3 separate regions of the Homo sapiens genome follow, and regions 1 and 3 are each linked to region 2. Evidence: promoter capture Hi-C in 16 types of primary human blood cells and fetal thymus (Javierre and others, 2016). All regions are on one chromosome and are shown on one strand. Each heading gives the region's core, a stretch centred on a gene start or on the middle of the fragment in contact. The rest is flanking DNA. Distances are from core to core; before and after follow the strand shown.

Evidence for each region. The method cuts DNA at HindIII sites, captures the fragments that hold promoters and counts their contacts. A CHiCAGO score of 5 or more calls a contact.
Region 1: a fragment that was not itself captured here is called in contact with the fragment with the promoter of STXBP3 in region 2 in 1 of 17 cell types (fetal thymus); the score reaches 5.1 in fetal thymus.
Region 3: a contact is called between a fragment that was not itself captured here and the fragment with the promoter of STXBP3 in region 2, in 4 of 17 cell types (activated CD4 T cells, fetal thymus, non-activated CD4 T cells and 1 more). The highest score is 6.0, in activated CD4 T cells.

Annotation. Positions count from the first base shown.
Region 1 is chr1:108,899,183-108,902,957 of GRCh38, reverse strand. It overlaps GPSM2 (G protein signaling modulator 2), which reads right to left. Exons shown (of 15, transcript NM_013296.5): 8 at 1,013-1,168. Among named protein-coding and RNA genes, the nearest start is that of GPSM2, 24 kb to the right of the region's middle. The HindIII fragment of the contact is 5,386 bases long and covers 1-3,775 here.
Region 2 is chr1:108,744,567-108,748,412 of GRCh38, reverse strand. It overlaps STXBP3 (syntaxin binding protein 3), which reads right to left and starts at 1,739. Exons shown (of 19, transcript NM_007269.4): 1 at 1,627-1,739. The coding sequence starts at 1,675. RefSeq lists a silencer at 1,238-1,357 and enhancers at 1,558-1,967, 1,490-2,060. The HindIII fragment of the contact is 6,658 bases long and covers 381-3,846 here.
Region 3 is chr1:108,555,906-108,560,000 of GRCh38, reverse strand. No RefSeq gene overlaps it. Among named protein-coding and RNA genes, the nearest start is that of EEIG2, 2.1 kb to the left of the region's middle. RefSeq lists a silencer at 1-240. The HindIII fragment of the contact is 3,181 bases long and covers 1,249-4,095 here.

The DNA of each region.
Region 1 (3,775 bases), core at 478-2,977, 150 kb before region 2:
TTAAAAAAAAGAATACCCACATAATACTAAACTCACAGTCAAGTATTACAACATAGAAAACATGCTTTTAAAATATGAAATACATTATAAAGTAATAAATCTCAAGGATAGGTATTCTGGTCCACTACCCTATTTTCCTTCTATAACAGCCCTACCAGGTAATTATTCAGTGTGTGTTTGAGCAGCAGGGAGAGAGAACGCACTACCTCTTGAGGTAGCATACTTCATTTTGAACATCTGCATCGAAAAGTTCTCTCTCATACTGAGGTAAAAACAAAATCGATCTTCTAAAGCAAACATCACAGACTAAATGCTGGAAAATAATGTTTTTTAATACAGTAAAACAAAAAAACTGAATTAGCCACTAACATTTAAAAATCAGATTTCATATAAAACTCAGCACTTCCAGCTTCTCTTTAAAAAACAGGAAGATGTGGACATAACGGATTTTCATTCCTGGCTGGCAACAATTAGTTGGAGTTGGGTAGCAGTTGCCCCCTTCACACTGGACATTATCTCTAAGTTCACCACAATTCCCACACTTATGTAGTTAGGAAAACTTTTTTTTTTTTTTTTTTGAGATGCAGTCTTGCTCTGTCGCCAGGCTGGAGCGCAGTGGCGTGATCTCAGCTCACTGCAACCTCCACCTCCTGGGTTCAAGCGATTCTCCTGCCTCAGCCTCCTGAGTAGCTGGGATTACAAGCGTGCGCCACCACACCCGGCTAATTTTTGTATTTTTAGTAGATACGGGGTTTCACCAGGAAGACTTCTGAAGAGGTAATTGAGTTTGGGACCTAGTCATTGATCTTGGGTCAAGGGCATATGGAACCAGACTAATCCTCTATCACAGACTAGCCCTTCATACAATGATATACAGAGGATATCACTGAAAGAAAATTCCTTAAAAGGGATTTTAAGGAAAACAAAGGAAAAGAAACAAAGGAAAAATTCTAGGGATTCAATAATGCATCTATATTTTACCTTAGTTATGGTAAAAAGACGTAAAACATACCTATCATTCAGCTCTTGAGCAATTGCTAAGTGCTTCAGATGATAATCAATGGCCTTTTCATAGTCTTGAAGTAAAGTATATGTATTTCCAAGACTGTAACAAGACTGTGCTTCTACAGCTCGGTCTTTAAGCTGTCGGGCCAACAGTAGTGTCTTCCTACAAGAAGAAATTAATTCTTATATAATGATCATTCTCAGTTTGGGCTTTAAGAATCACAAAACAAAACTCTCATTTTTCCTCTCTGCTGCTTTCTGCTGTCTTTAAATCTCTGAGAGCCTAATATTCATATCCCGTACTTTCTCCATTACTTTTAGACAAAATGAAAAGACGTTTTTGAAACACAGAAAGAAGATTCAAGACTTTTAGAATAAATTTGAGAATCCTAACAATTCATCAAAGTAAAGGAGTATTGAAACATAAAATCAAGAGGTTCTAGAGATTAACATAATATCTTTAACATTTAAAAAAACTTTCCCTTTAGTATTGGCAATAGCTAAAAGAGGCTTTTTTCCACATGACATCTGTTTTCAATCATACCGTCACCTTTGCATTGTCAAAATTTAAAATATTTAGGTAAAATTCTTATGTGTAGGCTATTAGTCACCACTTAGGTAAAATTCTTATGTATCGGGCATTAGTCACCAACTCATGAAAAATACTGAATACTACATCCAAACATTACCCAAATTCTACCTGTGGTATTGCCAGTGAGAAGCTAGCGTAGCAGTTAAGAGCATAGATCTTGGAGCTAGACTGGGTTTAAATCCCAACTTTGCCAATTACTAAGCTAAGGGCAAAGTCACTCAATCTCTCTGTATACCAGTCTCTTCTTATATAAAATGGGGGAAATATCTCGAAGGATTTTTGTGAGGATTAAATTAATATGTATAAAGTGCTTAGAATAGCATCTTGTGCATAGTAGTTGCTGTATAAATGTTAATGTGTTATTATCAGTGCTTAAACCTATAGATGCTTTTGGATTCAGTAATTTAAATGACCCTCCCATTATTTCTGTCAAATAGTATAATTACTTCATATCACTTATAACTATATGACAAATTACTATGCGGTAACGTGATAGCTTTTTTTAAGCAAACAAATCTAAAGTTACATATTTAATGATGATACCTTCAAATCTGTCACCTTGGGAGGCTACCTACTTATTCTAATGTTGCCTGTCTTTTCAAATATTTTTGAAAGACTTTTGGAATTGCTTTCAGATCCTGTGGCATAATGCTTTCTGGCATACCATTATTCTTTGATGGTACAGTTGATTTGTAAATGATCAGAAATCTTTCTGGAACCAAATTCAATTACTAACATAGGTTTACCAAACTACTGCTTTGTATCCGGAAGGATATGGATCTACATTGTTAGCCTTCTTGTTTGGCCCTGATAACAATTCCAGGCTGGGTGTGGTGGTTCACGCCTGTAATCCCAGCACTTTGGGAGGCTGAGGTGGGCGGATCACTTGAGGTCAGGAGTCCCAGACTAGCCTGGCCAACATGGCGAAACCCCGTCTCTACTAAAAATACAAAAATTAGCTGGGCGTGGTGGCAGACACCTGTAATCCCAGCTGCTCAGAAGCTGAGGCAGGAGAATCGCTTGAACCGGGGAGGCCGAGGTTGCAGTGCACCAAGATTGTGCCATTGCACTCCAGCCTGGGCGACAAGAGCAAAACTCCGTATTTAAAAAAAAAAAAAAAAAAAAAATCTAAAGAAGAGTTCTAAAAATATTTCTAACCAACGACTTGGAATATATATAAAGTTCTGAGTTCTAGCCTGCTTATTGGGAGGAAAAAAACTAAGTTTCATTACTTTATATTCATGCTTCTTTAGTCAAATAGCCACTATCCATTTTATAATAGAACCTTTCAGTATTTAACACAGATACACCATTTAATAATTAAGACTTCTCTATATCCCTTGGCTTTAAATATAGGAAATTTTTATATTTAAAATCAAAATATATACTCCTTCACATAGTACACAGTGATATATTTTATTTGGGAGGCTATTTCATATCTAACTAACCTAACCAACAAATATTAACCATTAGTTGATGTTTAAAGCAAAGTGGAATGCTATTTAATTTTTTTAGATAGGCCTAAAACAATTTTACCTTTTTTATGAAGATGACAAATTATCCAGAACTGTCTCATATTGGCTTCTTTAACAAAATACAAATCAATCACTGTGTCTTCGGTTTAGTCAAACTGCCTTCTACCCAAAATCTGTAAGAGGCTTCAATCCCCACTAACTAGGGAAAACTCAATCTAGAAAGCACAGATCAGGCAACTTGAAGCTGTCTAAACTTTCTATCATCTATGTCTCAAATCTACTGATAAGAGAGATCCTGCCACAGAAGAAGCTGGGATTGTAAATGCTTCAGGTAAGTGAATGGGGGACTCAGCTTACAGTGACAGTCAAATATAGGCAGAAAGAGGGTAAAGGGAGAACTGCTCAATAAGAGGGTGGGAAGGTAGAGAAAAAAATTCAGTGATCACTGGTATAGACTATAAATATTTTTGTTACAAGGCTTTCTTTTGGCCTCTCTTCTAACCCATAACTGAGTGAAATAAAGCATATACACAATATACACCACATATGCTAAACAGGTTTAAAAGATATTAAAGGTTGAAAACTTCATTTAAAAACAATTACTTTTAAAGATAAAAACCAATATTATAAAGGGGTCATACTGCTGCTATTAAATCTTATGTACAATAATATTTATTGAGCACTGTGTACCAGATACTGTGTT
Region 2 (3,846 bases), core at 490-2,989:
GTAGGTGGGAACACAGGTGCATGTCACCAAACATGGTTAATTTTAAAATTTTTTTGTAGAGATGGGGTCTCACTTTGTTGCCCACTCCTAGGCTCAGGTGATCATCTTGCCCCGGCCTCCCAAAGTGTTGGGATTACAGGCGTGAACCACTGCACCTGGCCATAATTTTTTCTTTTCTTTTCTGCTATCAAAATTTTTTGCCACCTCAAGGTATTTAAAAAGCAATTTAAAATGTTAATTACGAGATTGTGAAGCAACATGAAAAATGTTGAGTCAATGTCAGTTGTTTAAAAAAAAGGAAGTCACAGAATGACAGATAATAAAAACAATGTCTTTATCTGTATGAGGATCAGAAGGAAAATGTGAAAAAGGGAAAAGCTTATGATTCAATATGTAAAGAACTGGCTTAAATACATACATGCGGATGTTAATCACATATATATCTTGGAAATTATACAACACAATTTGTTACCCATTTTCACATAAATGTATTTAAATACCATTGTTTTAAAACATCTCAAATCTTAAGTCAGCCATGTAAATCTTGAAAAAGCAAATGCCAACCTTAAAATTATCTAATCTTTTAAAAGATAATTTCATATTTTTCACCTATTTATACATTTGCTTAGTGCCTGCTATATGTTAAGCACTATCCCAGTTACTGATTTGGATTTTTAATTTTAGACAAGGAACTCTAACTCCCAGAATTCTGCTGACTAAATCATTTGTTTTTTGTTCAACAAGTTGGACTAAGAAATACTAATTAGATGCTACTCCCTTTCCACTACTAGGCCATAATTATCTTGAACTCAGAGATACCAAACAATGATGGTTATTCCTGTTGGGTGGTTTCATTCTTTCTCTAACCTGCCAGACCTAGGTTTGGAGCGATGTTTATGAAAGTTGTGGATGATACCGCAGAACATCAGTAACCAATAAGGAGTCCGGTCCTAACAGCAGGGAGGGGCCCCCGAGAGTAGGGAAAACGGAAGGAGCGGCTCTTGCCCAGGCTATGCAGGAAGATGTCACGGCTGGACACCGGTCATTCCAATGGTCTCTTCTCAAGAACTTTTCAGAAAGTAGGCTCCTCTCGGAATAGGGGAAGATGAGTCTGTTAAACAGTGAGGTTTTTTGAAAAGCACGGGTTGATACTAACACGAATAAGCAGAATAAACAGTCCTTGCAAACTCCAGTGTGGGGTGGAGATGGGGGCGGAATAAACAGCGCCCGAATTGTCTCGGATGGAGAGACATCCCCAACTGGTGGAGCGCGGACGGGAGCGGAGAAGAGTGGGGAGCGCGGCCGAGGGCACGCACGGGCTCCGCGGGAGGGAAAGCCGGGCCGGGCGGCTCACCCGGGGCGGAGCTTCGCGGCCAGAGCGCGGCCGAGGCGAGGGGGTGCCCGACGCCAACGAGAAGGCCGCGTCCCGTCGCACCCCGCCCATCCCTGGTGCTGGCAAGGAATAAGGCAGGGCAGGAAAGCAGGAAGAAGTCCTCACACAGGTCCCAAAGCAACAAGTGCTCGCGGCGGCTCCTCAACAGACCGCTGGGTTGGGGCTGCAAAACGAGGCCCGGCACGGCAGCCTCCCGGCCTTCCCTCTCTCAACCCCTACCCCACCGCACTCACTCTGCCACACGACGCTCTTTAGCCCCCTCTCTGCCACCGGCGGCGCCATCTTCCCGACACTGCGGAGCAGCAGCCACCACCTTCCACTCCCAACCTACTTTGGCCGCAGAAGCGGCGTTGGGGTGGCCCCGCCCCTTGCTGCAGGGGAATGCCCCACCCCCTCTAGCAGACCGCGCCCTCCGGTGACGTCACGCGCGTCAGCAAGGGAATTTCCGCCCACTCCCGGACGGAGGCTGCGCAGTACAGGTGGAACCTCCGTGGGAAGTCGGGAGCCCCCTAGCGGGAGGCTGCTGTCGCCCGAGGTTCGACGTCCTGTGGCCTAGGAACGCGAAGTGCCAAACCGATCGTGAGCCAAGGCCGTCTATGAAATTCCGAGTTCACACATACACGAAGACTGGAGGATCCTCCCCATTACAGAAGAACCCTTCACTTCGCAAGGCGATTCATAATAGACTTCACTCAGTAGCCAGCCCAACTACCCAATGGAAAATGTACTGTCCCCAAATGATTATTTCATTCATTTTTTCAAGGACACAGTAATTGCGTAGAACTGTGAGGTTCCCTCCAGTGTGCCAAGAACTGTGCTGGACTTTTAGGAAACTCAAAGAAATGAGAGATCAACTCTTTCCCCTGAATAATTTACAATCTAATTAAAGAGCACAATTCCTGGAATGCTGCAGGTAGTTAAAACTTAGTTTAAAAATTGAATGCCTTAATGATAAGATATACATAAATGAACCAACAAAAGAATAATCATTTATTAACAAATTTATGCAACAAATGTAGGGAGGGCCTGTTAATGCTTCAGAATCTACAATTATTGTTGAAAGTTGATTCACAGAGGAGGAGATCTGAGCTCAGAAAGTTTAGGTAGAGATCTGTTTACTGAGATGGTTCCTTTGGGACTTTAAATCAAAGTAATCAAACGTAAGTGAGATCAGTTTAGTTGCTAAGAGCCCTAACTGTGAGATAACCATGTGACATTGGCAGAAAGTAGGCTTTCCTAGAAGGATTTGCAAAGAACCAGTGGCTGTAAAGATTCAAATTGGTCACACAGGGAAGTAGAAGTGGTTAGATACTACTACTAATAATAATGTCTAATATTTACTGAGTGCTTACTTACCATATGCCAGGCACCATGCTAAGTAGATTACCTCACTGATCCTCAAAGCAACACTTACAACAAGGAAACTGAGGCTTAATGAAGTCAAGTAACTTGCCAAGGATGCACTTAGTGGTGGAGTGGGAACAAAGATCAGGCTTGGGCTACATGGAAAGCAATAGAGTAGTCTGTGGGGTAACCTGCAATTTTTAGGAGAGGAAAGGCAAATGAAGAATTAAGAACAGGCTGGGCATGGTGGCTCACACCTGTAATCCCAGCACTTTGGGAGGCCTAGGCAGGAGGACTGATAGAGGCCAGGAGTTTAAGACCAGCCTGGGCAACATAGCAAGACTGCTGTCTCCACCAAAAAAAAAAAAAAAATTAATAAAAAAGTTAGCTGGGCATGATGGCGCATGCTACCTGCAAGCTGAGGAGTCGTAGCTACTTGCGAGGCTGACGTAGGACGACTGCTTGAGCCTGGGAGTTCCAGGCTGCAGTGAGCTATGATCATGCAACTGTACTCCAGTTTGGGGAACAGAATGAGACCCTGTATCTAACAATAAAAAAGGCCATAAAATGGGTTCTGGCACAACCTATGGCTGAGTGGTTTTTCTGTTCAAGGCTTATATGAGAATAGAAGCTGGAGCCCTGACCTCCTTTAAACCTACTCTAAATTGATTCAGTTGCTCAATGTTTTAAACAAGTGCACATATGATTTCCCTCTCCCTTTTCATTTTAAGTTAGGTTCTGCTTAGTTTAGCAGGGTGAAGCCCCAATCCATAAGAAAAATATGTGCCAGGGAAAATTCACCCTTCTGAGGTGAAGCCCCTTGCTCTGAAGAGCCAAACCAAGAGGGAAGAGTGAGATGGGTGAGGTGCCTCCATCTCTTACCCTTCAGGAGAATGACCAGGTGCCAGGGAATAATACAGGTCCCTCTGGGTTGGAAGTTTGACTCTGGTCACATGGGGTGCAGTTCTGGCTCATGCTCCTGAAGGCCAGAGTCCTTGGTGGCACTGCGGAATAGTGGAGCAAGCATGGTCTTTAACTGCACGTAGGCATAGGTTTACATCCTACAAAATCTGGCTCTGCCTCTTACTAGCAGTGTGACCTCAAACACC
Region 3 (4,095 bases), core at 1,590-4,089, 190 kb after region 2:
AAGCCGGAGGGAGGGCGGGGACTTTGTGGGCGGGCGCGGGCTTGGCCGCGGACTCTAACCCGCGACGGCAGTTAGCACGTCACGCCTTTCTGGGGTTAAAAAAAGACAAACCCGACAGAGAAAGCTTCCTTCTACCGCTTCCTCTCCGCCTTTCTTTTCAGTTTTTGCACCGCCTCCTTTCTCCCCCACCCCCTCCAGTGGTTTCTTTCCTTTGGGTTTGAGAGCCATGGGTTAATAGAGGCAATTAAAATCTCAGCGTTGTTTTGGTCAAATTGAAATCCTAAAACTAAAATTTCCGTTAGGTACTCTAAATTCACGAGCCTTCAAATATAAAAGGAAGATAAGGTAGGAAAAAGGAAAATGATGTGCTGAGGGACTATCAAGGGCCCAGGCACCGTACTGCTGCAGGCGCTTTCTCTGGGGTATAGCTTATCTAGTTCCTGTCACCCAGGACAAAAGATAAAAGAGCAAAGAAGCAGTTAAAATAATACCCTCCCTTTAAAAATTTGTCTGTCTATACTGAGAACTGAAATGCTTAAAATCAAATTCTGCAGGCAGTCTGGCATGGCTACGCTGTAATCCCAGCTACTCGGGAGGCTGAGGAGGGAGGTTAGCCTGAGCCGGGGAAGCGGAGCTTGCAATGATCGGAGATCGCGCCACTGCACTCTAGCCTGGGCAACAGAACAAGCCCCTGTCTTAAAAACAAAACAAAATCTTCAGAGCAGGCTTAAAAAAAAATCTCCCTAGGGGAATAACAATTACCTGCCTTCTGTAATCATGCATGTATTGTTACAATGAATGTTACAAAGTTGGTTACGTGATGTTCATGTTTTTAAACTGAGTTATTGTCATTTTCACTCAGATTCTGCCACAGTAATTCTGAAAGGGTTTAATTGAAAATATTTTCTTTCTCAGTTTACTCGTTTACTCATTCATTCATATAAAAAAATTGCTTAAAATGTCAATCATCGGCTAGACCCCATAACCAAAAGCCAATAACTGCCCTCAAGAATTTTACAATCTAGTGAGGAAGACATGTTTAGACAGGTCATTAAAAAAACACAACCTAGCACCAAGCTATGTAGAACTCAGAGAAGCAATTAATTGAAGTTAATCAGTTTTCTGAATTTCAAAGGATGAAAATGATTTGGGACAAAGTGGGGTAAGTTGTTCTAGGAGAAATAAATTAAAAAAAAAAAAAGATTCAGAGGCAGGTTCGGGGGTGGGGATTTGGTAATGGATAAAGCTTCTTACCCTGCAGGACAGGGGGCAAAGACAGTGAGATGCATTTGGGGACTTTGAGATTTGTCATTTAGAGCACTGGATGAATGTTAATTTCATTGACTGAACATTGAAAGCAAGAGGAGGGCAGGTTGGGAATGGAAGAGATAATGAGTCTTTATGGGATCTGCTTGCAGTACATCTAGGGAGAGAGAGGCAGCCTTAGCTCATAAAAATGCATTGGCAATTGAAAATATACATTTGGGAATTGAGGTAATCGCTGATGGCTGAAGCCCAAAAGGTGGATAAGGATGAGTTACTCTGAAGAATATTTAAAGGGTAGGCAAAGAGGAGATCGTGAAGGTGCCTAAGAACAAGCAGTCAAGAGAAAAAGGAGATGAAGAAAGAGATGGCCTGGAAGCCCAGACGGTTTTAATCATGTAACATTCGTAGTTACAAAGTTCTATTGTGTGCCAGGCACTATGCTGGGTACTAGAGATGCAAATGAATAAGACATAGGGGCTTATAAAGGAATGGAGAAAAACAGAGATATGCAAACAGATCAACTAAAGTGTGTGTGTGTGGTATGTGAGTATGTGTGTGTGAGAGAGAGAAGAGAGAGAGAAAGAAAGAGAGAGAGCAATCTGTGATCCATGTAGGACAGAGGACCATTTCAAGAGAGTGCTGCAGAGCAGTCCCAGAGGATTTGGACTGAAAAGAAGCTACTGAATTGAAGGTCTAGGAGGTCATTGGTAATCTTGGCAAGAGAAGTCATCATAAAAGATAGTGACAAAGTAAGATGAAAAGTGACAAAGTAAGTGAAAAGATGACAGTGAAAAGTAAGATAGTGACAAAGTAATGTGGGTAAATAAAAATTATATTTTTATTGATGTTTTTCTGATTTTTTTGTCAGCGAATGAAAAGAGAGAGAGAATGGTGACCAGAGGAGGACAGTTCAATCTTTTTCAATAACATTCAGGAACTATCCAATATTTATTGAGTGTCTATTAGGTGCCAAGCACCTTAATAGGTCCTATGGATTTGAAATGCCGTCCCTGTCTTAGATCTCACGGTCTACTGGAGGACACAGAGAAGTAAGCAGGCAGTTGCAGTACAATGTAACACTGAGTGCTGTCTGTGTATGATGGTGAGTGGAGACTGCTGTGGGAGACTATAAAAGCTAACAGGGATAAGTAGTAGGTTTATGGAATGCCTTCTAGGGTAAGTGAAGCCTGAATTCAGGCCTTTAAGCTGAGGCCTGAATAATGAGCATGGGTGGGGAGCAGTTTCCAGGAAGGAGGTAGTGTCTGTGCAGAGGCTCAAAGGAAGAGAGACCATGTTGCAGAGGGAACTGAAATTAGTTCTGTCTGGCTGCAACTTAGAGTTGGGTACAGTGACAGGGGTTAACAAAGAGCCATTGAAGTTTTAAAGAAGAAGCATGATATATTCAGATTTACATTTTGTAAAGCTCTTCTACTTTATAAAATGGAAGATAGGAGACAGTCTGTTACTGTTTTTTAGACTCATGGTTTGATTATTAAACCCCTGATAGGAGTCATAGTCAAGGCAGGAAACAGATATCATATTCAATGTGTTTAAATGGGGAAAATTTAATGAAAGGACTCTTCACAGAGTTGACAGGGTAAGGGACCCACAGTCTGGTGAGAAGTTGAAAGGAAGAAGGGATAAATATCCTGATTTCTCTCACCTCCTACTTTCTGATCTCTTGGTGGTGCTTCCCATGATCCAAAACCAACCAAGGCCAGAGGGTAGAGGGGCTCGGAACATGCAGTTCATACAGGACAGACTCCTGGGGCACAAAGTAGGGCACTGAAAGGTAGAGAATGGTTGGAGGTAAGGGGATGGAAAGCCACTAGCACACAAAGGATACAGTCAGGGTTCACCATAGGAAGCTGAAACCACTCTGGATGTTTCAAAAAAAAAAAAAAAAAGGGATTTCATTCAGGCACTTCACTGCTTCTGAAATCTGTGGAAGGGCTGAAGGGGTTGAGGTCAGCAGACTGTCGAATTCAAAGTCACATGCTTTGTGGTAAACATTACTAGTGTTCACTAGTATCCGGTCCTCCTTGATTTCTGAGCATATGGGAGTTTACAGTTCCCAATTCCCTTGCGGTTAGTGGGGCCTTGTGATGAGGTCTAGCCAATAAAATGTGAGAAGTAACACGTCACTTCCAGGATGAAACAGTGAAAAGCCTTTGAGCAGTTCTCTAGACTACCTCTTCCCTGCCACAATAGTTATAGAGGAGACCTTGGGTTAAGATGTAGCAGCCACAAGATTGAAGCAGCCCAGATTTCTTAAGTCAGCACATGGAGAGCAACTGCCCACACCTGCAGGAAACATTTTGTCTGTGAGAAAGCAACTTTTATTATATGAAGCCACTGAGATTTTGGGGGATGCTTGTCACTACAGCATAAGTCTAGTTTATTCTGACTAACATACACTGCAGCTGGGATGGGAAGCTGACACTAGAACACTGCTACTGCTGCTGCCACCACCACTGGCTCACACCTGTCAAGACTATGAGGAGTCTGAATGCCACAGGCATGTCATCACACCTTGCTTGCAAGTGACACAGCAGTAAGAAGAGAGCCTCCATTTCACTTGCACCTGTGTTTTCATAAGGAAATTTATTTGGCAGGCCTTATTTGCACCCAAAAATTGAGTGGCAAAGGAGTCTGAGAAATGTAATTTTCAGCTTTCCAACTTCTTCAGATAGGATGGTGGAATGAATGTTGAGGCTAAGTATCTACTCCAGTACTTATAATTCAAGTTTCTTAAAGGCAGGGATGGTTTGCTGATCATCTTTGTATCTTTTCTAAATAGCCCAGTACCTAGTGGGTATTCAATACATG